Regions from separate parts of the Homo sapiens genome. Here regions 2 and 3 are each linked to region 1. Evidence: promoter capture Hi-C in 16 types of primary human blood cells and fetal thymus (Javierre and others, 2016). All regions are on one chromosome and are shown on one strand. The core of a region is centred on a gene start or on the middle of the fragment in contact, and the rest is flanking DNA. Distances in the headings are between cores, read along the strand shown.

Evidence for each region. The method cuts DNA at HindIII sites, captures the fragments that hold promoters and counts their contacts. A CHiCAGO score of 5 or more calls a contact.
Region 2: a fragment that was not itself captured here is called in contact with the fragment with the promoter of FN1 in region 1 in 2 of 17 cell types (M0 macrophages and monocytes); the score reaches 5.0 in M0 macrophages.
Region 3: a fragment that was not itself captured here is called in contact with the fragment with the promoter of FN1 in region 1 in 1 of 17 cell types (non-activated CD4 T cells); the score reaches 6.0 in non-activated CD4 T cells.

What each region holds. Positions count from the first base shown.
Region 1 is chr2:215,434,189-215,437,620 of GRCh38, reverse strand. It overlaps FN1 (fibronectin 1), which reads left to right and starts at 1,553. Exons shown (of 46, transcript NM_212482.4): 1 at 1,553-1,966; 2 at 2,797-2,925. The coding sequence starts at 1,819. It overlaps FN1-DT (FN1 divergent transcript), which reads right to left and starts at 1,930. Exons shown (of 2, transcript NR_187198.1): 1 at 1,312-1,930; 2 at 1-702. RefSeq lists silencers at 1,370-1,459, 1,470-1,529 and an enhancer at 3,042-3,432. The HindIII fragment of the contact is 4,490 bases long and covers 1-3,432 here.
Region 2 is chr2:215,947,200-215,950,747 of GRCh38, reverse strand. The region is part of intron 2 of MREG (melanoregulin); the gene reads left to right. Among named protein-coding and RNA genes, the nearest start is that of MREG, 65 kb to the left of the region's middle. The HindIII fragment of the contact is 4,786 bases long and covers 1-3,548 here.
Region 3 is chr2:215,964,454-215,967,821 of GRCh38, reverse strand. The region is part of intron 2 of MREG (melanoregulin); the gene reads left to right. Among named protein-coding and RNA genes, the nearest start is that of MREG, 47 kb to the left of the region's middle. The HindIII fragment of the contact is 163 bases long and covers 1,578-1,740 here.

The DNA of each region.
Region 1 (3,432 bases), core at 304-2,803:
TATAGAACACAGAGTTCTAATTACTCCTGTGGCAATTACTGAAGGTGAAACTTTTGGAGAAAATAGGTACCTTGCCGAAATAAATATATTTTATTAGTAGCTTCTTGTGTTTTAAAGCAAATGGAACCTCTGAACTCCTAACACAAGGAGAAGGCAAAGCATTCAGTTCGGGTCTCTCTGGATCTACTGTGGAAGTGGTGGACTCCTCCTTCTGAAGATCTTTAAAAGCAATTGTGCCTGTGTTTATCTGACAAAAAGGACTGATGTGATGTGTTGCTAAATGAGAGACTTTTCAGATTCCCTTTCCACTCTGAGTTTAGAGTTCAAGGCGGGGGAATCTTAAAGGAGAACTTTCCACACTCTTGGAGTAAATAACAATTGAAATATAAAAAATCTGGCGGCGGGGGATGGAGGGGGCATTCTGTAATGGAACTTGTCAGCAAAAAGAAAATGGCAAATAAATGTGAGAAAGGGGCCGAAGGAGGGCAAGACAGTACATAGGGTGCCCCCCACCCACCCGGCTTTTAATGATTCAAGCAAAAAAATCTCTGCTTTGTGTGTAACTGGCACGGTGAACGTGGGAAAGGACACGAAGACCTTTCTCTCCCCACAGCTGGTCCAACTTTCCAATTTTCAGGTTGTTCACAGTGATTTCACTTTCAGTGGAAACGGGCGTCCCATCCCCAGGAAAGGAAGGCTTTCCTGCATGTGTAAAAAAGTAAACTGTTACTTTGTCCTTGCAAAAGAAAACTTCATTCTCTGAACTTCCCCGGGATCTGCAAAGCGCCCCGCGGAACTCCCGGTACTTAGTAGAAGCTCATTAAAGGTCTCTGTTCCCCTTTGCTCCCCGTTCGCCCGCTGGCCCTTTCTCAGAGCCAGACAGGCACAGCGCTGAGAAGGGAAGAAGTCCGAACAGGGAGCTGTGAAGACAAAATAAGGGAGTCCCGAGTCAGTACCCTTTAGTCCAAAGAAAGGGAGCGGGATGGGGGGAAAGGCAGCCCCGCCCTGGGACTGAAAAGTCTGGATTCTTAACAGCTGCAAGGTCGTGGATATTTTATGGGTTTTCTTCCTCACAAAATACACTCCTATAAGCAGAGATTCCCCCCCTCCACCCCGAAGAGAGGTGACGCAATGTCCTCAAACACTACCACCACCCCCAATAAAAAAGAAAAGGGAAGGGGGAGCGTCTTGCAACCCCTTCGCTTCACACAAGTCCAGCCACTCCCTTTCCTCCCAGCCGCTTCCCATCCCTTCCCCCATCCCCTAAAAAGTTTGATGACCGCAAAGGAAACCGAAAAAAAGTTGTCTTGCCCCAGTCCTGGCGGGCCATCAGCATCTCTTTTGTTCGCTGCGAACCCACAGTCCCCCGTGACGTCACCCGGAGCCCGGGCCAATCGGCGCGCGGTCGGCTGCGGCGGCCGGCGGGCGGGCGGGCGGGTGGGGTGGGGCGGGGCGGGGACAGCCCGGCGGGTCTCTCCTCCCCCGCGCCCCGGGCCTCCAGAGGGGCGGGAGGGGACCGTCCCATATAAGCCCCGGCTCCCGGCGCTCGGACGCCCGCGCCGGCTGTGCTGCACAGGGGGAGGAGAGGGAACCCCAGGCGCGAGCGGGAAGAGGGGACCTGCAGCCACAACTTCTCTGGTCCTCTGCATCCCTTCTGTCCCTCCACCCGTCCCCTTCCCCACCCTCTGGCCCCCACCTTCTTGGAGGCGACAACCCCCGGGAGGCATTAGAAGGGATTTTTCCCGCAGGTTGCGAAGGGAAGCAAACTTGGTGGCAACTTGCCTCCCGGTGCGGGCGTCTCTCCCCCACCGTCTCAACATGCTTAGGGGTCCGGGGCCCGGGCTGCTGCTGCTGGCCGTCCAGTGCCTGGGGACAGCGGTGCCCTCCACGGGAGCCTCGAAGAGCAAGAGGCAGGCTCAGCAAATGGTTCAGCCCCAGTCCCCGGTGGCTGTCAGTCAAAGCAAGCGTGAGTACTGACCGCGGGCTGAAACAGGCTGCCTCAGGGATGGGACCCTAAAGCCGACCAAAGTTGGGGCTGAAGTTTTGTGCGCGCGCGTGTGTGCGAGTGTGTGCGCGCTTTACTGAGAGAAACCAGCTGTGCACACAAAAGGACCGAGTTTTGAGCACGCTGGTTCTGAGGGCCTGGGATGATAAGACCGTGCATTGGAGGACGAGGACTCTGCGACTTTCCCGTGTTCTAATAAATTCTGCACGTTCAGATTGTCCTTCTAGGAATTAACCAAAACTTGCCTTTAAAGAGAAAAATGATGCATGTCTATAAATTTTCCGTCTGGGATTAGTGTGGTCCTTACTGCTACTTATTTCCTTCTGTTAAATAATTGGTCAAATATTTTCAACATGGGGGTGGAAAGGGGGTATTGAAATAGCTGTCTTGTTTCTAACTAACTTGGAAGAGATGTAATTGGTTCAGACCTCTTTAGGGCCGCTCAGGATACTTCACCAAGAACAGAGGTTGGAATTCTTTCCGTTTTTCAAAGACACACCCTCCTTTTGCTTTGAGAAAGCTGCTTAAAGTTGTCCTTTTTGACTATTACTCCAAAAGAATATTTAAGTTCCTTGCATGTTTTAAAAATGTGACTTCAATTGTCTGCCTTCCAAAATGTTTCCAACTTTTTTATGTAGACCCCTGGCCAGATGGAAATGACATCATTGTATATAACTTTTAGCAAAGTTAAAAGGAAAAAAATATGTACGTCAATATTCACATGAAGAAAATTCCATAATTTTGGGAAAAGGAGAAATGCAAATGTAACGTTTTCCTTCAATTATTTGCAGCCGGTTGTTATGACAATGGAAAACACTATCAGATAAATCAACAGTGGGAGCGGACCTACCTAGGCAATGCGTTGGTTTGTACTTGTTATGGAGGAAGCCGAGGTTTTAACTGCGAGAGTAAACCTGAAGGTAAGTGACAACAAGCCCCATAGTTAGTATCTTTTAATACATGAAGTGGTAATTGTTAAACTTTGCATTAGTAAGTAAAAATACATACACCATTTTTCTAATAGAATTACCTGTCATTTCCTCTTAAGTTTAAAAACTGCTTATATTTGCTTTTCACATGCTTTTACCTTTAAAACAAAGAAACGAATCTTTCCCAAATTAGTTCCTAGAGTCTTCTTTTTGCTTTACTCTCCCAAAGTTTTTGATGAGAAAAATGAAAGATTTTGTGTGTCCTCCGACAAAAAAAATTGCTTATAAAATTTTAATTTATTAGAAAGCAGTCTCAAATCTTAAACTGTTAGTTTATGAGCCAGAAAACACTTTGGGGACTTACATCGTAAAATGATTTGTCAGCGGCAGTTAACACAAAACCATTAGCCACTTCAAAGTTCTCATTCCTTTAGGACCAATGATATTTTTCTCATAAATTATAGCAACTCTGTCAGAGAAGCACTGATCAGGGGAAAA
Region 2 (3,548 bases), core at 519-3,018, 510 kb before region 1:
TCTTACCAATTATGTAATCAAGTGTCTATTCTTAGTTAAAACCCTGTCAATGCTTCTACTGGTTTTAGAGCTTTAAATTTTGCATAAAATTTCCAGATACTTTCATGTATAATTATTCATGACTATTCTGTCAAAAGAAGACAGTAATAATATGGAAGTATGACATCCATAGTTTCATTGAACTAATTTTAACAACCACCTGTCATGTGCAAGCTGTCCCCAAACCATGGTAGGGGAAGGTGGGATCCAAAGATGCATCAACTATGGATCCATCCTTAGCAGATCTTTAATCTCATATTGATTATTAGTTATGTGTTGCTTCCCCATTAAATGTTTTATCAGAGTAACAGACACTGAAACTGAATGAATTCGTATAACATTCATTGTAGATATTTAGGAATAGCAAAATGACTAATCGATGGACAGCAGGAAGGGAAGGATGTTTTAAAAGTCCAAAGCCTGGATGATCCAATGATGAATGAGTCTCTGAAAAACAGAGATTTGGCTGCATTTAGAACAAGGCCTAAGACATCAGCCTAAGGAGCTAAAAAAAATTGTCAGAGACCTTTAATTGCAAGTTGGAGAAGCCACCTAGTGGTTTGTTTCATAAGTTAAAGTTGTGTGAACATACGAGGCAACTCATCCTTGGATTGATTGAGTGGGTCTCTAATCAAGTGTGACTAACAATCTGGTCACTTTTCATGAAGTCCAGAAAGCAGGGTCATTTTCACTGAGAATAAGCACAGTGTAGCTCTGCCTAATATTTTGTTTATTTTATTGTCATCTTTTTATCTAAAAGGAGTTAAGGCAACTTACATAAAAGTATAGTGAGATAAGATAAACTAGAATAAGACAGGAAAGAAAGAGGAAAATATGAATAAAGTCATAACAAGTAGCCAGAAATTGAAGTAATTCAAAAATGCTTGTGAAATCCTGTATGTATATATTTTTTCATGAAAGGACTTGAAATTTTCAGGCACAAGTGGAAATGGATCAGTTATAAAATTTACAACATCCAGAAAGATGAAATAATTTTTAGGAAAGATAAAACCATCTAGTACTTAGAGCAGAGCAATTTTTCTTCTGGAGGTCCTCACAAATTGCATACTGCATAATGTAATGTATCATGGCCTCCATGCTCATAGTAGAAATAATTCTGAGTCCTGGAGGATTTTTTTTTTTTTTTTGAGACAGAGTCTTGCTCTGTTGCCCAGGCTGGAGTGCACAGGCGTGATCTCGGCTCACTGCAACCTCTGCCTCCCGGGTTCAAGCAATTCTCCTGCCTCAGCCTCCTGAGTAGCTGGGACCACAGGCACACACCACCACACCCGGCAAATTTTTTGTATTTTTAGTAGAGACGGGGTTTCACCGTAGTGACTAGGCTGGTCTCAAACTCCTGACCTCAAGTGATCCACCCGCCTCAGCCTCCCAAAGTGCTGGGATTATAGGCATGAGCCAGCATGCCTGGCCCTCTTTTTTTTTTTTTTAAGACAAAGTCTCACTCTCACCCAGGCCGAAGTGCAGTGGTGCGATCTCTGCGCACTGCAACCTCTGCCTCCTGAGTTGAAGTGATTCTCCTGCCTCAGCCTCCTGAGTAGCTGGGATTACAGGTGTGTGCCACCACCTCCAGCTAATTTTTGTATTATTATTATTATTATTAGTAGTAGTAGTAGTAGTAGTAGTAGTAGTAGTAGTAGTAGTAGTAGTAGTAGAGACAGGGTTTTGCCATGCTGGCCAGGCTGGTATCGAACTCCTGACCTCAAGTGATCTGCTCACCTCTGTGTTCCAAAATGCTGGGATTAGAGGTGTGAGCCAGCGTCCTTGACCTAGGATTGTTTCTTAATTGTGCTACACTGATTTGGAGGAGCATGTGGACCAACCTCCATTTTAAGGACTTGTATTAACTCATTTGATCCTCACAATAAGCCAATGAGGTAGGTAGGTAGTTTTATTATCCCCATATTGCAGATGAGGCAATTGAGGAACAGTGAGGTTAAGAACTTCCCTGAAGTCAGGCTGTTAGTAAATAACAGAGCTGGGATTCAAACCCAGACACTCAGGCTCAGCACCCACAGTATTTTCCAATATGCTATACTGAGTGGCCAAGTAAGTATAATAAGGCCCTTCCAATGAAGACAGCAGTACTTGAGTTTTTTCCCTTACAACTTATATAGTCTGTGAGGGATTAGATAGGTATGCCTTAACATGATGCTAAAGATGTGGCTAGGGTTGCATATTTCTTATATGACTTAGTTAACTTTGCCCTCTTCCAAGGTCACAGATTTTGTCCCTGACCCCAATCACCATGCACATGTGCACATGCACGTTCAACATGCCTTTGGTAAAATAAAAGAGGACCAGGAGAAATTGTTCAAACTTGCCACTTCCTGACTTCTAGAAAATAGCTGAAAGCCCATGCCCTGCTGATGGCATATCCTCAGATTCAAGATCTAAAATGCCGTCGTAACAAAACACAGTTTGTTTTGCTAGCTTTTCTTTTTCCAAGTGGTATCTATAAACATTTGCGAATGGCAGCTAAATTGGTTTTTCTTAAACAGTCATGAGTTGATTGCCAATCAACAAGGCAAGCCTTGTACAGAACTTAGTAGAGAAATAATGGCATCATTGAAACATTTTCAGTTAGAGGAGTCAAAATATCATATAACTTGAGTCCTAAATTGAGCATTTAGAATGATGTTCTTTTGGGCTGTGCATTAGGATAGCTGTGTGGTTAATGTCTTTGCTAAGAAACAGTAAAAGGTATACTCTATAAAATGACTGCTCTATAGTGACAAGCCTCCTTAAAGACAAATTTCTATGACATTTTAAAGGCACACTTATCTCAATAAAGACCCCAATGCTCCTAAAAGATTCAAGTTCTGTATTGGAACAACATGATGGCCTCCTTTACATAGGACTGATAAAGAACTTTAATCAGTTGATAAAGTTGAATTTGTGACAGATTCATCCTATCAAAGGAAAATGAATAAAAAAGAATGTTGCTGAGATATGGTGGTGAAGGAGACATTGCCCAGGAATCAAGAAACTTGGGATTTTCAGGTCTACTTTATTCTGACTACAAAGGGAGACATAGATTTTTTTGTGTGTGTCTGTTTCTTATGAACTTTTGAGCCAGACTTGGCTTCCAATATCTATTCTGATACCTATTAGCTGATGACATTGGATTAGCCAAGGAAGCTCTTTGGGCCTCAGTTACTGTATCTATAAAATGGCTTTAATAATATATAGATTTTATTAGATGCTCACTGTGTGCAGATATTGTACTTTCTGTATGCCATCAATCTTTATAACATTCTTAAATGGAATATTTATCATTGTTAACTCCACTTTACAGGTGAGATCACTAAATTGAGAGAATATGTAATATGAAGAGTTTCAGTAAGATAATTTATGCAAGGTGCCATATCACCTGGTGCAGAGCAGATTCTCCAGCAGTGGTAGCTGATAGTATTCCTATCAACTTTATCTCATCCATCTCCTTCTCTTCTTTTAGGCTTGCTTTGAAGATTAATAAAAGAGAAGAGCCA
Region 3 (3,368 bases), core at 410-2,909, 530 kb before region 1:
AAATCCAGTTTGCTGCCTATTTATAAATAAAGTTTTATTGGAACACAGTCGTGCCCATGAGGTTACATACTGACTATGGCTGCTTTTTTGCTACTAATGATGTCTCACACAGAACCCCAACATAAAATACACATAAAAAGTTTGCTGGCCTCTACTTAAGGCCACTTGGTGCTCAGTAGGCTTGGCGCAAATGACTGTGTGGATTTAATTTTTCATACAAAAAGGACACATGAGCAGCCTCTTTAAGGAAGACTTCTTATACCCCCTGATTTATGATACTTTGGAAGAAGAGATTCTCTTTAGAGATTGAGAGAATCTTCTAGCTTTTTCATTTATGGGTATAAAACATTTTTCATTTACTGGTGATTTCTTTCTTTTGAAAAATGGCTAAACAGTGCTCTATTATGTGAGATTAGTCTAAGTGAAAAAATGCACTATAATTTTCAAATATATTAAAATGCACCCTGTCTTGGACTAGTGCCACTCTGCTATTTTCCTTTCATATTCTGGGGTTTTAAATTCACAGGAAATGTTTTAATGGCTTTATCTGAAGCCTATCATGTTGACAAAGAGGCAGGCAGATGACTGACAAGGTAAAGGTCTCAGAAACTGGGAATGGCTGCAGAATTCATGATCCAAAAGGCAGCTTCGTGACTGGCTTGGTGAGGAGTCATTCATATGTCTATAATAACGAGGAAAGACTGGGGTAATTATAAACAAATATGTTAACCAGTTTTTCCAGACAATCCCAGGACTGCTTCAGTTTAAGTGATTATTTTGCCTGAGGCTTTTGGCATCAGCGTTTGTAAGAGTAAACCCCAACACTTGAGTCAGGGAGGCAGAATCTGTAGGCTCAGTTAAAGATTATGGGGGTGTAAAAATGGACAGTGAATGGGATACTAGAATTGTAATGGAAAATGTTTGCCAGGTGCAGTGGCTCATGCCTGTAATCCCAGCATTTTGGGAGGCCAAGGTGGTAGGATCACGAGGTCAGGAGTTCGAGACCAGCCTGACCAACATGGCGAAACCTCGTCTCTACTAAAAATACAAAAATTAGCCAGGCGTGGTGGCACACGCCTATAATCCCAGCTACTTGGGAGGCTGAGGCAGGAGAATTGCTTGAACCTGGGAGGCAGAGGTTGCAGTGAGCCGAGATCGTGCCACTGCACTCCAGCCAGGATGACAGAGTGAGACTCCATCTCAAAAAAAAAAAAAAAAAAGGGAAAATGTTTTACAAGGCTTGAACTTAAGTAATAATTCTCAGCTGTTAAAGGAACCCTATTGCCATTGACAAGCACAACATACTGCCCCTTTTATTAAAGTGTCAGTGTGACCAGGTTTGTTTGTGGGGACACAGTGTGCTCTAGATGTGCTTGGGGTGATTAGGGAAGTGGTTTAGTTTGTGGCTGTAAGTCTTAAAAAAAGAATATAGGTAATTTGAGAAGAACTGGGGTAGGTCATGAAAAATATGGAAAAATTAGAAAGTAGAAATCAAGCTATGGAAGTGGGGCGGGATGAGCAAAACCCATTGTCAAATCAGATCCACGCGGATCATGAATTTTACCCATCATTAAGCTTTACTAATAATTCCGAAGAGGCAGGCTATTGAGAGGCTCAGATAAAGCAGAGAGAGGTCTGGGGCATTGAGGATGTCTCCCTGGGACCCCCTCTCCCTCCCTAGACCTGTCCCTCTGATTCACAATACTAAATGGGTCTAAGTAAGGTGTACAGTGCAAAGCTTTTAAGTTTTAAAAGAACTCCATTTGATACCCCTCATTATTTTGTTGGCTACATGACATTTTCCAGGGAGCCACGCCTCAAAGATTTTGGGTATTGCAATTCTAAGAAATCCTCTGGCCAGAGACATCCTTCTAAGGGCATTCAGTAGACAAGGTTTTTCCTCCTAGCAAAGATCATTCCTCTCATTACCTGGAGGTGCAATTGATGAGAAATTAGATTGGTTCACCTGCCTTCATTCCTTTTTTCCTGGGATCATTCATCTCTTCTCACCACCAAGTCCCCTACTCCCTTTAGGTCAATGAATGGATCACAGCCCTGCTGCTTAAACTTCTTCCTCCTAGGGAGTAAAGGTAAAAAAGGACTGTAATTGTTCAGTGTCAAGCAGAGATAAACAACTTGACAGCTTGCAAACAAAGGAAGAGCAAATGTAAGGTAGGGTTCATGGTGATAGGTATCCTGGAGGAATAATTAGGAAAGGGTTGACCACTACAACAAGAAGCTTTTGGGCTAAAGAATGAGAAACTGTCAGATTTCTAGGATTGTTGGTTTTTCTAAAAAAGCACATTTTAACTTTCTAATTTCTTCTCTTCCTTCCTCCCTCTGTATCCCCTGCCTATCTCTGCTGAATGTTCTCCCCTATCCCACAAGATGACCTCAACTCTGCTGGGGCTCCTGTCCTTGTCGTCACCTTGTTCTTGCTGTCGCCATGCTCCCTGTCTGCCTTCTCCCCTTTGAGGCTGGCGAGATCCTGGAATACAGAGTCAATGCCCCACAGAAGCAACAGTGTTTTCAGCTGAATACTGGGACATGCACAGGAACCTGCAAATGTATCAATAGGATTTTCAATTTAACAAAATTCTTTGAAATCAGATGAGTTATGGCCTGTGAGTTGCCATCTGAAACATAGCAAATACCTTTTAAAATAAATTTAAGTTATAGTCATACTCAGACCTAGACTTTTCCATTTTTGAGCTAATTAGATGCTAGATTAGGTTTACAAAGGAAGCTTTAAAAATAATCATTCTTAGGGATTTTAAAGTTTCTGTTCTGATTATAAAAGAAGTATGTGAGCATTGTGGAAAATTTGAAAAGTACAGGAGAAAAAAAGTCACTCACATGTAATCCTAGCCAAGATAAATACTATCGTACTATTTTATTGCATTTTGCTTCTGGTATTTTAAAAAGAGATATCTGTCTGTCTATCTATCTATCTATCTATCTATCTATCTATCTATCTATCTGTCTGTCTGTCTAGATTCTTAGAACTGGAATTCTTGGGTTAAAGATTTTGCCCATTTTTATATGCTTTGATACATCCTGACAAATAGTTTTCACAGAAAGTGACAGAAATTTTATAACTCAATCATAATACAAAATAGCCCCTTTCACTAGACCCTCTCCAGCACTGGACAATTTCATTTTATTTTTGATAGATAATTTGGCTAGACAACAATAGCAACACAGTGTTCATTGTTTGAGAATTTCTTTGGTTATTATAGGGTGGATATTATGCCTTAATTGATTTTTTTGTGAATTATCTCAATGTCTTTTGCTCATTAGTGTGATTTTCTGTTCTTTTCTTTCTTTCTTTCTTTTTTTTGAGACAGAGTCTTACTGTCATCCAGGCT